3 separate regions of the Homo sapiens genome follow, and all the other regions are linked to region 2. The links are contacts of gene promoters, found by promoter capture Hi-C in blood cells and fetal thymus (Javierre and others, 2016). All regions are on one chromosome and are shown on one strand. The core of a region is centred on a gene start or on the middle of the fragment in contact, and the rest is flanking DNA. Distances in the headings are between cores, read along the strand shown.

Region 1 (4,366 bases), core at 256-2,755, 630 kb after region 2:
GGGATAACTGATCAGAGAATGCAGAGAGTGATGGGAGAGTGAAACTCACTGGGAGAGGAGATGACGGATGGCGGCTATCCAGAACCACATGACGAATGTCGGTGCCACATGCTTTCGGGGAGCATAGAAACAGCTGTCTCCAGCAGCCGTGATCAAAGCAAGGCTAAAAAATACAGCAGTCACCACAAAGGAAGGCTGTCATGTAACATCAAAAATACCACTGGCTTAAAAAATCTTAATACATCGTTTTTATTGCTGGTGGGTTTTGTTAAGTGTTTTAATGTCTGCTATGTAGGATGAATATATATATTATATATATATATATATATTTTTTTTTTTTTTCCTTTGGTAACCTATTTATTTCAGCAGGAGATTCTCTGGTTCTTAACACCTCATGTCAGGAGGCCCAGTAGCCCCCCTACCCAGGTATGTACAGATATGAAAACGCGCTGGCAATGTCTAGAGGAGACAGCAGACAATTACTTTTGATATGCATGGAAAAGAAGAGACACAGACTCTTTCTATAGTTGTGGAAATTCGGACAATATAAGGAGATGACATGTCCACCGCACAGGAAGCTGAGGTGAAGACCCAGGCCTCCCAAGGCCCTGCATTCACACCATCCACTCCAGGCCTGGCTTCTATGGGCTTCCATGCGCTGGCTTTGGGTGCTTCAATCCCCCACCTCCGGGATGGGTTAGGTGTGCTCCTATGTGATACCATCGCCCCACGCTTCTGTCTTTGTACACACTCGCCATGTCCTATGTTAATGGTTAATAGCTCATCTCGCCTTTTAGACTGTGAGCTCCTGGAGGCAAAGAAAATATCTTTTCTCTTAACTCATTTCATGGCACATAAAAGGGGCTCACTACATTTTTGTAAATGAAGGAATGAATAAACGAAGCAAAATCTGCCTATCTAGGTGATTTTAGCTGAGTTTCACTGAATTATAATTATGTCAGTTAATTCATCCATCACTCATCAACACTTTAGGGACTGGCCTTGTGTCGATGACTGGGTAGGTGTGGGTAACACAAAGACAGTAAGATCTAGTAACCGCTTCCAAAGTTTTGACATCTAGAGGTCAGCATGAGCAATCAGTACCACAAGACGTCAGGGGAAACACGCTATAACAGAGGTATATGTACGGTAGAATATGGGAGGATAGAGAACTCTCAGAATTGGGGGCTTTGGGACAATTTTCCAGGAGAAAATGAAATGTGAATGGGAGCTTAAGAAGCAAGTGTTAACTAGGCAGAAAAGAGAGGAGATTGTTTTAGAGCAAAGAGTCACAAACCAGAACAGGATATCGTTGAATCTGAGACATGAAGCATGGCTATAAAGCAGGTGTGTGCAGAGAAGCAGGACAAGCAGGGGCTGGGGAGCTGTAAGCATGTAGTTCATGGGGCCATGTGCCTCCCAGGAGGGCTTGACTCTGCAGCTAATGGGAAACCTCTAGTTCTTCCATGCGTGTATTTCAGACTCTGAAATTAACACATGCTTACTATGAACATTTAGAAAATATAAGTAGTAGAAACAGAGGAAGAAACATGAATTGTCTCACACCAGGAATAGTGTTAACACACTCTAATACAGTTTTTTTCACAGCAGCATAGCTATTCTTACAGGGCTCCTACTTTCCTCTTTTCATGCAATCAGGATATGTTGCTGAACTGGTATCTGTGTAGACAATACTCAGGAGTAGTGCCCACAAGGGAAGCTCACCTGAGCCTCAGTGTCCACAGTTTCTATGGGAGCTTGAAGTAGGCATGATCGATTATTCATTGCCCATATGGCTAATTTCAGTCTCCAAATAGATTAATATTGTTTGACCAAAAGCTCTCACCCTAAGCCACATTGTTGTTCTTTCTAGGATGGCCAGCCCTACGTTGAGTATTATGGATGTGGTCAGTGCCTGCCCTAAATCACATTGCTAGGCTATCCAGTATGATCCAAGGACCCCAGGAAAACAGACACAATCTTATCAGGCATCATATTCCAGGGATCCAGAGATTGCCTCTCAGAAGCTGGGGGACAAAGATCAGAACTTTTCTTTGGGCAGGGCTAAATTTTTCACTACACATGGGCACTAGCTGTGCTCACTGGTACTAGGGTGCTAATGTTCTCAAGCTCTCTCAGGGGACAGAGCTAGGGAACAAATGTATGTACATACACATGTACATCTTTATTAATTTCTCTGTCTATCATCTATCAGTCTATATCATCTATTATCTATCATCTATTATTTATCTCTCTATCATTAGACTATCTCTCTATCATCTATCCATCATCTTTTTATTTATCCATATTAAAAACCAGGAGTTCACACCAATACTTCCAATACCAATCCAAATCCACAGTGTTCTTTATAGTTTTTCCCTTTCTCATATTTGTAACTCTCTTCTCTAAGAGTAAGAAACCTATTTCCCATTATCCTTATATATGTACTGATTTGTTCAATCCTCCACTATTGATCAGTCTTCCATCTCTGCCACCATTTTCTCCCTCCCAGGCATAACTGCCTTCCTAATGCTGCTTGATCTCTATGCTCCAGGCTTGGCCACTCCTCCAAGAGGAAACTCCCTTCACCAAACCCCATGATGGCCCACCCTCTACGTGGATACCATTCTCACATTCCCACCCCACTCTTGCCCTGACACCTCATAAGATGAAGAGCTATACACTAATTTGTTAGCATAGCCTTTTCTGAGTCTAGAAAATGATACTTGTTCATTGAACAGCATTCAGAAATACAGACAAGTATAGAGAAGAACTGGAAAGTCATCCGTAACTGCTGTTCAGAGATTTTCATTAACATTTTTTGTTTTACATTTTGTTCTCTCCCTAAGAACATTTAAAAATAGTTGATAACATAATCTGTACAATGTTTACAACAAAATCAGACAAATTCAGACTTGTTCAAGATAGCAATAGATAAAATGAGGGCAAGTGCTAAAACAGAATAATATTAAATGCTGATAGATTATGAAAACATTGGAAGATCCAGGCAAGTGTACCTGAAAATACCACCAGTCACTTTGATCATGCCCCCTCCAGAGGGTGATGTCTCCCTCTCGTGCAGTCCTGCCCTGCTGTTGAGAGACGGCTGCTCCATTGTAGGTCATGTGTCTTTAATTTAAATGGAAGTGGTGGCTGAGGGAAGGAGGCACAGAGAGGTGGAGAGGAGAGAAGACAGGGGGCAGAGGAGAGCCAATCACCCTGTGACTGTCATCTCAATACCTGCTGGAGGGGTACAGACTCCATCTCTGGTGGCATCACCCAGCCTGTTGATCATGCTTGGAGGATGCTTGGAGTGTAGTCATCAGAGATAAAAGCGCATGCTGGAAAGAGTCATAGTTTCTGGCCATGATGTTTCTGTTTAAGGAGTCTTCGTAGACACAGCAGTGGAAAATCAGAGAGGATGCGTCAGGGGCTGCCACATGACCCCCTTCCAACCCAAATTCTCCCTGAATGTTGAAGACATCCAGAAGGCTGACGACTGTGTAGGTGGGATGTTTTGGAAGCAGAACTGAGGCCATGATAGTGAGAAAGAGGAGGAGGAAATTGCAGGGAGCCCTTTAGAAGATCCACTCAGGGGAACACCATGATTGATAACATACTAAATATGAGTAAAAATGAAGACAACTGATTCTTTTAGGTTTTCCTACGTGGGTGTGGGTGAAATACAAAATGAATGTATGCATTATTAATATTTTAACTTTTCTTTCCTCTAATAACTACACTTTGCAAAAACATCCTGGAGAGTAAGAATTGGGTCATTTCTTTGGGCTGTTCACATACTGATAGTGCTGAACAATTAGAATACAGTCATTCCATGCTTCTTGGATGAGCTCTTGGTCTTACCTACAATAAGCATTACTGTGAACATTTAGCTCCATTGTAATTGATAATCATCTCTGGGTATATTAAACTGAGAGAACAGAACATGTTCACTGAGATTCTCACCATCTATCTGGACCTTCTGGAAGAGGATGTGTGCTTTCAGGGTTTTGCTCCTGGGTAGTCAAAGTCAAAAACAGTGCGGCGATGAGGCCATGAATTTTGGAATTTAGCCCTCAGGATACGTTTATGCTTTTGCATCCTCTCTTGGGTAGTATATTTCCTGTATACTTATTTACATCTTAATGTGAATATTATATTAACCCCCTTTCTAAATAATTCACAGGAATTGCTAATACATTGCCATGAATCATTTATTTTTATTAAAAAAACAAACAGGCCAGGCACGGTGGTTCACACCTGTAATCCCAGCACTTTGGGAGGCTGAGGCAGGGGAATCATGAGGTCAGGAGATCGAGACCATCCTGGCTAACACGGTGAAACCCCATCTCTACTAAAAATACAA
Region 2 (4,375 bases), core at 1,282-3,781:
TGACTGACACTGAGAGAAACAGTGTATTATCACAGTTTACACAGTAAATTTTTTTGGAGGGGAGAGGGAGGAGATTGAAATAGAAATGATCGAAATAGAAATTATCTAAAGTTTAAGAAATACAACTGATTAAATGTTACATGTCAAAGACACTGTAGGTACCCAATAAATCCTGTTAAATGGACTGCACAAGTGGGATGAGAACACGTTTTCCCCACACCTCTGACTAGTATGTACCTTTCTTAGGAAGTTATTTTTTCAGCCATGGGAAAAAAAAGGGCAGAATTTAGGACAGATAAAACATAAGTAGCTTATAAATCCTCTGAAAGGAAATCAAAACACAGTATTTTGTATCTCTGTATAAAGTTAAGCTCCTCAGGGACAGGGGCAATGTCCAGAGGATAGTGAGCATACTACTTAGCAAACTAATGCAGGTTAATAAATATTGACACAGTAAGACTAGCATAGTTTACATTCTAATTTTGTAAAGATTATAAGTTACCTCTTCATATTCTGTTCTTTTATTTCTCCTGTGTATATTATAAATACACAAAGATTGAAAATTATTTCTTGAAGCTATTTCCTTTTTTATTTTTTGGTCAACTGTATTAGTGTTTCTTAAAAGGGCTTCTGGTCATCCTTAGGGCTTATCAGTAGCATCATTAATAATGTATTCATTTCACTAAAAATGTGGTAAGTAGCTTGGATTTAAAAACAGGATCTAATTTCAAAGCTATTTCCACTATACACACCAAGTTACAACTTTCTTATCTCTCCTAAATTCTAAATTTTACATGATTTACCAAATCACTTCTTAAGTAAGAGTACTTATTGATCAGAAGTGTGAGACAAACACCTTATCCCACTTGTCCAATTTATTCAACAAGATTGATTGGGTACCTTTGTGTCTCTGACAGGTAACTTTCAACAGTTGTATTTCTTAAACTTTAGGTCGTCTCCCAAAAAAAACTGTAATAATTTGCTGCTTCTCTCAATATTGCAGGCAGTAAAATGATCCAAAATTACGGGTCATATCCACATTTCTTCATGATTGAGGTTAACTGTGCACTGTAAACCCCATATGCTATTAGTTTACATTTTCAACAGCACCCTCGCCACTTAATAATCTCAAACAGATTTTGGACTGTTACTAATTTAGCATATCCATAAAAAGTCATTTAAAAAATGTAGACGCTAAATTCTCTTTCAAGGTTGCCAAGCTTCACCAGTGTCTGTATTAAAATTATTTCTAAAATTTTACGGACTAAGGCATTTGGTACATTCAATTCTACCTTTACCAACAAAAGCCTTTACCACCAAGATGAGGAAAGCATCCTTTTCATTTTCTACACTGAAAAGGGGGGGGAAAAAAGGCCAACTGCTTGCATACAGGTCTGCATATAACACAGCAGTCTCTGGCAAAGCCAATAACTCACGTTCAACTTCAGAAATCCTGGTGGCCGGTAACACAGAGTAACCTGTGCGCACAACCCTTGGGCTTGACATACCACTTCATCCGCCCTCCCTTCCCATCAATCCACCCCCAAAACCCCAACCCACCAAGCACACGGCTAAATATGTCTTCCCCAAGAGAGCCAAAAACCTTGAAAACGCCGAGAAAGGGCTCCCCTTTGAAGGAAAGGGCCTGCCCTTCCCTGTCTGGGGCCCCGGCTGGCTCGAAGAGCCTGGCTCCTAGGAGGCCCAAATCTCGACGCCTCGCACGTCCCGCCCCGCCCCGGGCCCGCTCGCGTCCCCTCGGGCGACAAAACCCTCCCGCCGTCGCTCAGCCAGGACTGACAGTTACGGCTGCAGCAGCCGCGGCCACCAGGGGCCTACTTCTGGCACCAGCCCCTTCGGACCACGCGCCCCCAAACACTCGCCTCGGCGGCGGGGGGCGGGGAAGGGGGGTGTCGACCTCGCCACAGCGGGCCCCGAAGGCCGGCCGAGTGACGGAGGGGAGCCAGCGCCGCCTGGCGCAGGCCGCGGCAACACTGACCTGTCGTCGCCCCCGCGCCTGGGCTGCGGCGGCCGCCTCACTGGTCGTAGTCGCCCTCGCCCGCCGCCTCCGCCCGCCACCGCCTCGTTCTCTTTCGCTGCCGCCACCGCCGGGGCTCATGCGGGACCCGCGCTTCCTTATCCGGAAAACGAGGCCGGGAAAGGGAGCGCCGGGGCCGCCGAAATCCCGGCGTTCGTCGCCAGCCGCCGCTGCCTGTCCACACCGGGGGGCTGAGGGGCCCTCCTGCCAGGGGCTACAGGCCGCGAGCTATTCCGAGGAGGAGCCGAAGGAGGCGCCGCCGCCCGCAGCCGAGCGCGCCGGGTCGGCAGAGGTGAAGCGTAAGTAGGCGGCGGATGGCGGGCGCCCGCGCTGGCGGATGGCTACGCGGCGGAGGGGTGCGCGAGCGAGCGAAGCCTGGTGTGTCGGGTCCTGGCGAAGGGAAAAGGCCCCGTCGTCTCCTGTAGTCACCCCGAGCCCAGCGCCACCATCTTGGGAGACACACGGATCTCGCGGCCGCGGCGCAAGACGGGAGGACTGGCTGGGCGGGCCGAGTATCCCGGCAGGCAGCGCGCGCCGCCCGGCCGGGCGAGGGCTCCAGGCCGGGACGCGGGGACGTGGGGCGGGGCCAAGACGCGCGGGAGGGCGCCGCGCTCCGCCCCTCCTTCCTTCGCCGGCCCCGCCTCCCTCCCGCTTGCCGTCGCCGCCGGCGCACGGGCCATTGGGAAGAGGAGGTGGCCTGCGGCCCCTCGGAGTCCCACCAGGCTCGGTCGCCATCTTGCGACTGGACAGAAAGGGTAATCCCTCTTTTTAGTTTCTGCTGTCTGTGACCCGAAAGAATAAACCTGGGACTTCCGGAAGCCCTCTGGGCACCCCCCCCCCCAGGAGGGTTGCAGAGCCCCTTGGTGTACCCAGCAGAGGAACGCCTCAGACTTTGTTGGGAAACGAATGGCTCTGAAAGTTAGCTGAAGCCGCTGGAATAGCCCCCCAGCCCCGAGGCGGGGCAGGTGCCTGCCGTTATTGGCTTTTCGACCCCAACCCTTTTCTATCTGGAGCTGCCTTTGTAGATGTTGCAGGGGTGCCCCGAGAGTGCAGGCCAGATTTTAGAGGACCAAGGTCATCTACTTAGGCCTCTTGCCAACACAGGATGTGTCAACTAGTTTACCAGAGACGAAGGTAAAGTCCCGTCTCCTGCAGTTGTTGACGTTCAGTAGGTCGTCGGTTAAGAAAAGTGGCTCCCTGGTTGACCCCAGCTGGATAGAGGCTAATTTTGATCCATATGACAGCTGAACGTAGTTAAAGCCATTAAAATTAAATCCATTTAAAGTCATATTTGGTACCAGGGTCACCATTTTAAAAGGTGTGTGTGTGTATGTGTGTGTGTGTGTGTGTGTGTGTGTATAGCTTTACAACACTTGCTAGCAAAGCCAAAAGAGTATCACTAACAATTCATAGTGTTACAACTTGCAACTTTGTTGATAAGCCCTTGAAGTACTAGATGAGTACCCATGTCTAGTATTCAGATTTTTTATATCAACAGTCGTACATAGCAGTGTATCTTTTTTAAATTTATTTTTATTTTTAAACTTAGAAATGGTGTCTTGCTATGTTAGGCCCAGGCTGGTCTCGAGCTCCTGGCCTCAAGTGATCCTCCCACCTCGGCCTCCCAAAGTTTTGGGACTACAGGCATGAGCCACAGTGCTCGGCCAGCAGTGTAATTTTTAACTGTCAGTCTCGGAACATCTTTTTTGTATAGCCAAGTGTGTGGGTGTGTGTGTGTATCCGCCTCACAACTATAACCAACCATTGAAAAACCAACAATAAGCTAGAAGAATTTAAGTTATTCCAGGACAACTGATGATAATGATAGTATTAAGCCATATTCGATTTTAAGATGTTTTAACTCAGCTCTTTACTCACTTTTCATTTCCTCTCATTACACATCCACATTTGGAAACTATTTGCTGTTATATTTCATGGAAAGGACTAGTAAGAATTATAATCTTTAAAAAAATTTATCTTCGCAAGTTTTCAAAATAGGCAACAAAGAATGTAAATCTTTAAGGACTTTATTGTTGGACTAATTAAAGCATACCATTTCTACTATATCTAGCATATGGAGATACTTATAGGTATTCTTCCTTTTAAGTAGAAATTGACAATAAATTAAGTGTAATTTTATAATGGCCTGGTGTATCAAAGTGTGGCGGAAATCCCTGAGTTCCAAAAAGATTAAAGACCGAAGGGAAATAAGTCTGCTTTTAGCTAGATGTCAGAATGACTATTCATTGCTTTACTGAGATCAAGGAGGATCTTAATTCCTCCTGGAGAAATTACGTATATCCGTTTTAGTTCATTAATTTTAAATCTGTATTCTTATGT
Region 3 (4,209 bases), core at 309-2,808, 660 kb after region 2:
CCTAATATCTGACTTGCCTAATTTAGACCAAATGTCTTTATTTTACCAATAACCTTTATAGCTGTTTCTATTTCCCAAAGATTACTGAAGTCATGTGAACTAAAAAGCATTACATTTTTTACTTTTCTGACAAAATATTTGATTTAAGCACTTATTATTTTTAAGCCAATTAATCAGAGCTCTTTCATATATAAACATCACATGTGCAATAATATAAATACACAGAAAGACAGAAGAAGATCCAGCAGTTGTAAGATTTTTCATTTGCCAGTTTTAAAGTTTCTTAATTGGATTACTGGCTTCATGGTGGAGTCCTTGGAGGAACAGGGCTAGGAAAACACGCAGTTATTTTTTAGGGTCTAATAAACAGGCACAGCTGGAAGGCAAAACAGATCCCCCAAAATACAGGGTTCTATTATCATACTGACTCCTGGATCCCCAAAAGAGAAATGCTGTGGAACAAGACAGTGCAATCATTTTCCTGTGCATTTGATTGCAAAGTAACCCAAAGCTGATCAGTCCATTCTGTGATCAGCCCATCCCCCAGGGGAGTCTTATCTCTCAGCCGGGGTGGGGGCATTTCCATACTTTCTAGCTGGCCGTGAGCATGCTTTTCTGATCCAAATGTGCAAAAAGCTGTGTGTCCCCCATAGTTACCATTAGCCATCCCTAAAATTATATTTAGCCATAGATTTTGAGAGGGATCTATCTACTTTCAATTCCTGGGGTTTCACGAGGAAAACAGGTTTTTCCCAAAGCAGGATCTATGGCACCTCCTCCATTTTCCCCAAGGAGTCCCAAGCTGTTAGAAGAAGTTCTCTTAGATCCTCTCTTGTGTGCATCAAGAGTGGCAAGACAAAATGGAGAAAAGCTATTCAGCCAACTGAGAAGGAAAAAAACCTTTTTTCTCCAGAAAAGAAGATTCAAGAAGAGAAAAAATCATAAAGACCCTTTAAATATATGCGTGGCTTAGATATCTGCTTTTAATTAAGCTGACTTTTAACCATAGCGCTTTTTAAAATTTCTTATTACCCTACTTTAGCCAGGCCAAATGGTGAATATTTCTGGCTTTTAAGCTTTATCAAAACTAACCTCACAGGCAAAACCAGTAAGCCTCAATTAAGGTTCTGACTTAACCACGACTGTATGAGGTATTTTCAAAGAGGTGGTTAGCAGTTTTTAAAAAATCTAGACTCTCCAAAGGTGGATCAGAGAAAGGAAGATTCTACAAGGGAAGCTAGAAATTGTCCATGGAGGGGAAGAAGATCAACAAATGGCCAAAGTTACACAGACATCAAACCAGAAAGGACTCATTCTCTTGGGCCAGAATTGAATCCTGAACCTGGGCCACCACTGTGAAAGGACAAGGTCCTAAGCCTGCGTTCTATCCTAAGGTTCCCCTCTTCATGACAGAATGACACAGAAAGACAAATTCATAGCACAAGGTATACCAGATTCGCTACAGCTTAAGACTGGCCTCACGAATACTTTTGCCCGTTAATTAAAACTTTGCAAGAGAGAGTGATTTTTAACCATTCTAACAACTGGTTTGCAGAGAGACAGAGAAAGACAGAAGAATTGCCTGCAGCAGGGTGGGGAAGGTGAGGAACTCAGGGAACCCAGAGAAAGACCCACCCATTGCAGTGATACTGAATCAGAAGTTCAGGCGGCCACTCGTCGGTCATGAAGGGATCTTTTCCAGCAGTCCCATCAGCTCTCAAGTTTTCCCCTTTGGGAAGGAAAAAGCTCCCCATGTCCAGTGAGCCTGTACATGCCTAATCCTGTCCCCCACAGCCATCAGGAAAAAGTAGAAGGCAGATTAATCCCAATAAAATAGCAGTTAACATCCCATAGTATCAAATCCATTTTTAACCGAGAGGGACTTTACTGAAGGGAGAGCCTCTAACCCATTCCTATCTTTTACCCCGGTAAAATGTACCCCACTACTTTCCCAGAGTCAGCCAGTTGGTGCTACAGCCTATTTCCTTTGGCTCGAGATCACAACTAAGCCAAAAGTTAGCAGATTTAATTTTTTTTAATCAAAGCTTTTATTTGACTTAAGCTTTTTATTTGACTTTCATAAAGTCTTTAAATAAAAATACTGAAATCCATTTAGAAGCTTCTGCCTATCAATAGGCATCTCTAGATGAGACTAATTTGGGAGCCCTCATTTTCAAACGCACTTCAGTGCAGTGTTGTTCATTTGGAACATTCCACTATAAGTTATGTTTAGTAAGATTTCACCATTTCTGTCAGACTTTGTGGCTTCTGGGGCCTAATACTTATGCATGTATAAGCCAGAAGGAACTCAGTTCTTCAGAAATTAAGGATCCCATTTTCACCTAAAATATTGGCTTTCTCTCAGGTACCCTTTATCAGCTTTGCCAATGATTTTTCCTATCTAAGCACTCAAGAAAAATGACACAAAGGAGTAGAACACAAAAATCCCTGCGAATTCCAAAAAGCCAAATTTACACTCCCTGCAATATTGCCATTTACCACCATTTGTTTTTCTGCCCCAGTCAGATGTAAGAGGCCTCTAAGTCAGTTAATTACTGCATCCAACCCAATTACGCACGCAGTGCAGTTTCTGTCACGACTTCCAAACCAAGTTTACATCAGAAATTTGCTCAAAGAAACTCGGAGAGCTCAAAATACAAATCCATGGAGCTTTGGAATCTGAGCGAGATCTTACCACCGCCCCCTGCTGCCCTGAGAGAGCAACGGGCACAAGGAGCCCGGCGGGTCCCTCGCTTGGTCACTCAGTGCTCACGGGGGTCGCTAGAAGCTCTACCTCGATCTGTTCTGACGCCATCTGATAAAAGAAAAACTTCAGCCAAATTAAAGTTTAATTGAGCAATGAATGATTCGCGAATCGAGCAGCCTCCTGAGTCGGAGTAGACTCAGAGACTCCAGCGCAGCCACGTAGTAGAAGATGATTTATGGACAGAAAAAGGAGAGTAACATAAGGAAAATGGAAGTGAGGTACAGAAACAGCTGGAATGGGTACAGCTTGCCGTTTGCCTTATTTGAACATGGTTTAAACAGTTGCCTACATTTGATTGGCCAAAACTCAGTGATTGGCACAAGTGTAGGCTGCCGTCTGTTTACACCTCCACCCGTTACAGTTCACGATGTACAGAGAAACTTTTAGACTGAACTTAAAATATGTAAGGAGACAGCTTTGGGCTAAACTTGATTTAACACCACCAGTCTACCTTGTACACGTTGTTGCAATTCACTTCCCATCCCATAGTATGCTTAGTTAATGCTAATTCTTTGCTTATATCTATTTTCCCCCAAACTTTACTTTTTGAGAAAGAAAAAAAACAGACCAAACTAAACAGGCCTGATGTCTGAAAAGCTGGCCTGGTATTCCCAACTAGACCATCCTGTTCTCCTTGTGCACACACTCAATCCTGCAAACACCAACTTCAGACAAGGTTACTCTGAGGCCATGATACAGTGAGACAAAATAAGCCCATTTCATAATTTTATTTAAGCACAGACAAAAACAAGTTTGCTGTGCCACCCACAAAATACCAAACATCCTTCTCTCTTGGCTAAAATGAGTGACGACAGCTCCTTATCAATTACAATATTTACACTTGCACTAGTCTGGTTTGTCCTCCCCACAGATAAGATTAGTTGAGACACCGAGTGACTGAGTTGCCTCTGCTTTTGTATGATTTCCAAAATAAAGCAAACCCTTCCCTTGAATCTTCCTCAATTCATCAACGTAAGCCCAAATCATATAAAAGCTTCTGACACCTCCTTGCTGAGATGCCATGGTTCTCTGTGGTGTGTGTTCTGCTCACTGCAACTAGCAATAAACCCACCTTGTTCAATCACAAGGGTGCTCCTGGTGTTCTCTGATTCAAAGACACTGATAGAAATAGAAGTTCCTCTGAGATGCAGCTGAGATCCGCACTGCCTCAGACTGGGATGATGGGCTCTGTGTATTAGTCCGTTTTCACACTGCTATAAAAATACTATCCAAGCCTGGGTAATTTATAAATCATAAAGGAAAGAGGTTTAATGGACTCACAGTTCCATATGGCTGGGGAGGCCTCAGGAAACTTACAATCATGGCAGAAGACAAAGGGGAAGCAAAGACCTTCTTCACATGGTGGCAGGAGAGAGAAGTGCAAGCAGGAAATGCCAGATGCTTATAATTCCATCAGATCTCATGAGAACTCACTCACGATC

Evidence for each region. The method cuts DNA at HindIII sites, captures the fragments that hold promoters and counts their contacts. A CHiCAGO score of 5 or more calls a contact.
Region 1: a contact is called between a fragment that was not itself captured here and the fragment with the promoter of UBE3A in region 2, in 7 of 17 cell types (naive CD8 T cells, total CD4 T cells, activated CD4 T cells and 4 more). The highest score is 9.0, in naive CD8 T cells.
Region 3: a contact is called between a fragment that was not itself captured here and the fragment with the promoter of UBE3A in region 2, in 9 of 17 cell types (total CD4 T cells, naive CD8 T cells, naive CD4 T cells and 6 more). The highest score is 9.2, in total CD4 T cells.

The regions. Positions count from the first base shown.
Region 1 is chr15:26,070,348-26,074,713 of GRCh38, forward strand. No RefSeq gene overlaps it. Among named protein-coding and RNA genes, the nearest start is that of TRE-TTC2-2, 9.8 kb to the right of the region's middle. The HindIII fragment of the contact is 6,546 bases long and covers 1-4,366 here.
Region 2 is chr15:25,436,493-25,440,867 of GRCh38, forward strand. It overlaps UBE3A (ubiquitin protein ligase E3A), which reads right to left and starts at 2,532. Exons shown (of 13, transcript NM_130839.5): 1 at 1,997-2,532. RefSeq lists enhancers at 1,648-2,593, 2,594-3,539 and silencers at 1,677-2,096, 2,457-2,796. The HindIII fragment of the contact is 4,364 bases long and covers 1,219-4,375 here.
Region 3 is chr15:26,093,189-26,097,397 of GRCh38, forward strand. All of the region lies in intron 5 of LOC105370739 (a long non-coding RNA gene), which reads right to left. Among named protein-coding and RNA genes, the nearest start is that of TRE-TTC2-2, 13 kb to the left of the region's middle. The HindIII fragment of the contact is 969 bases long and covers 1,075-2,043 here.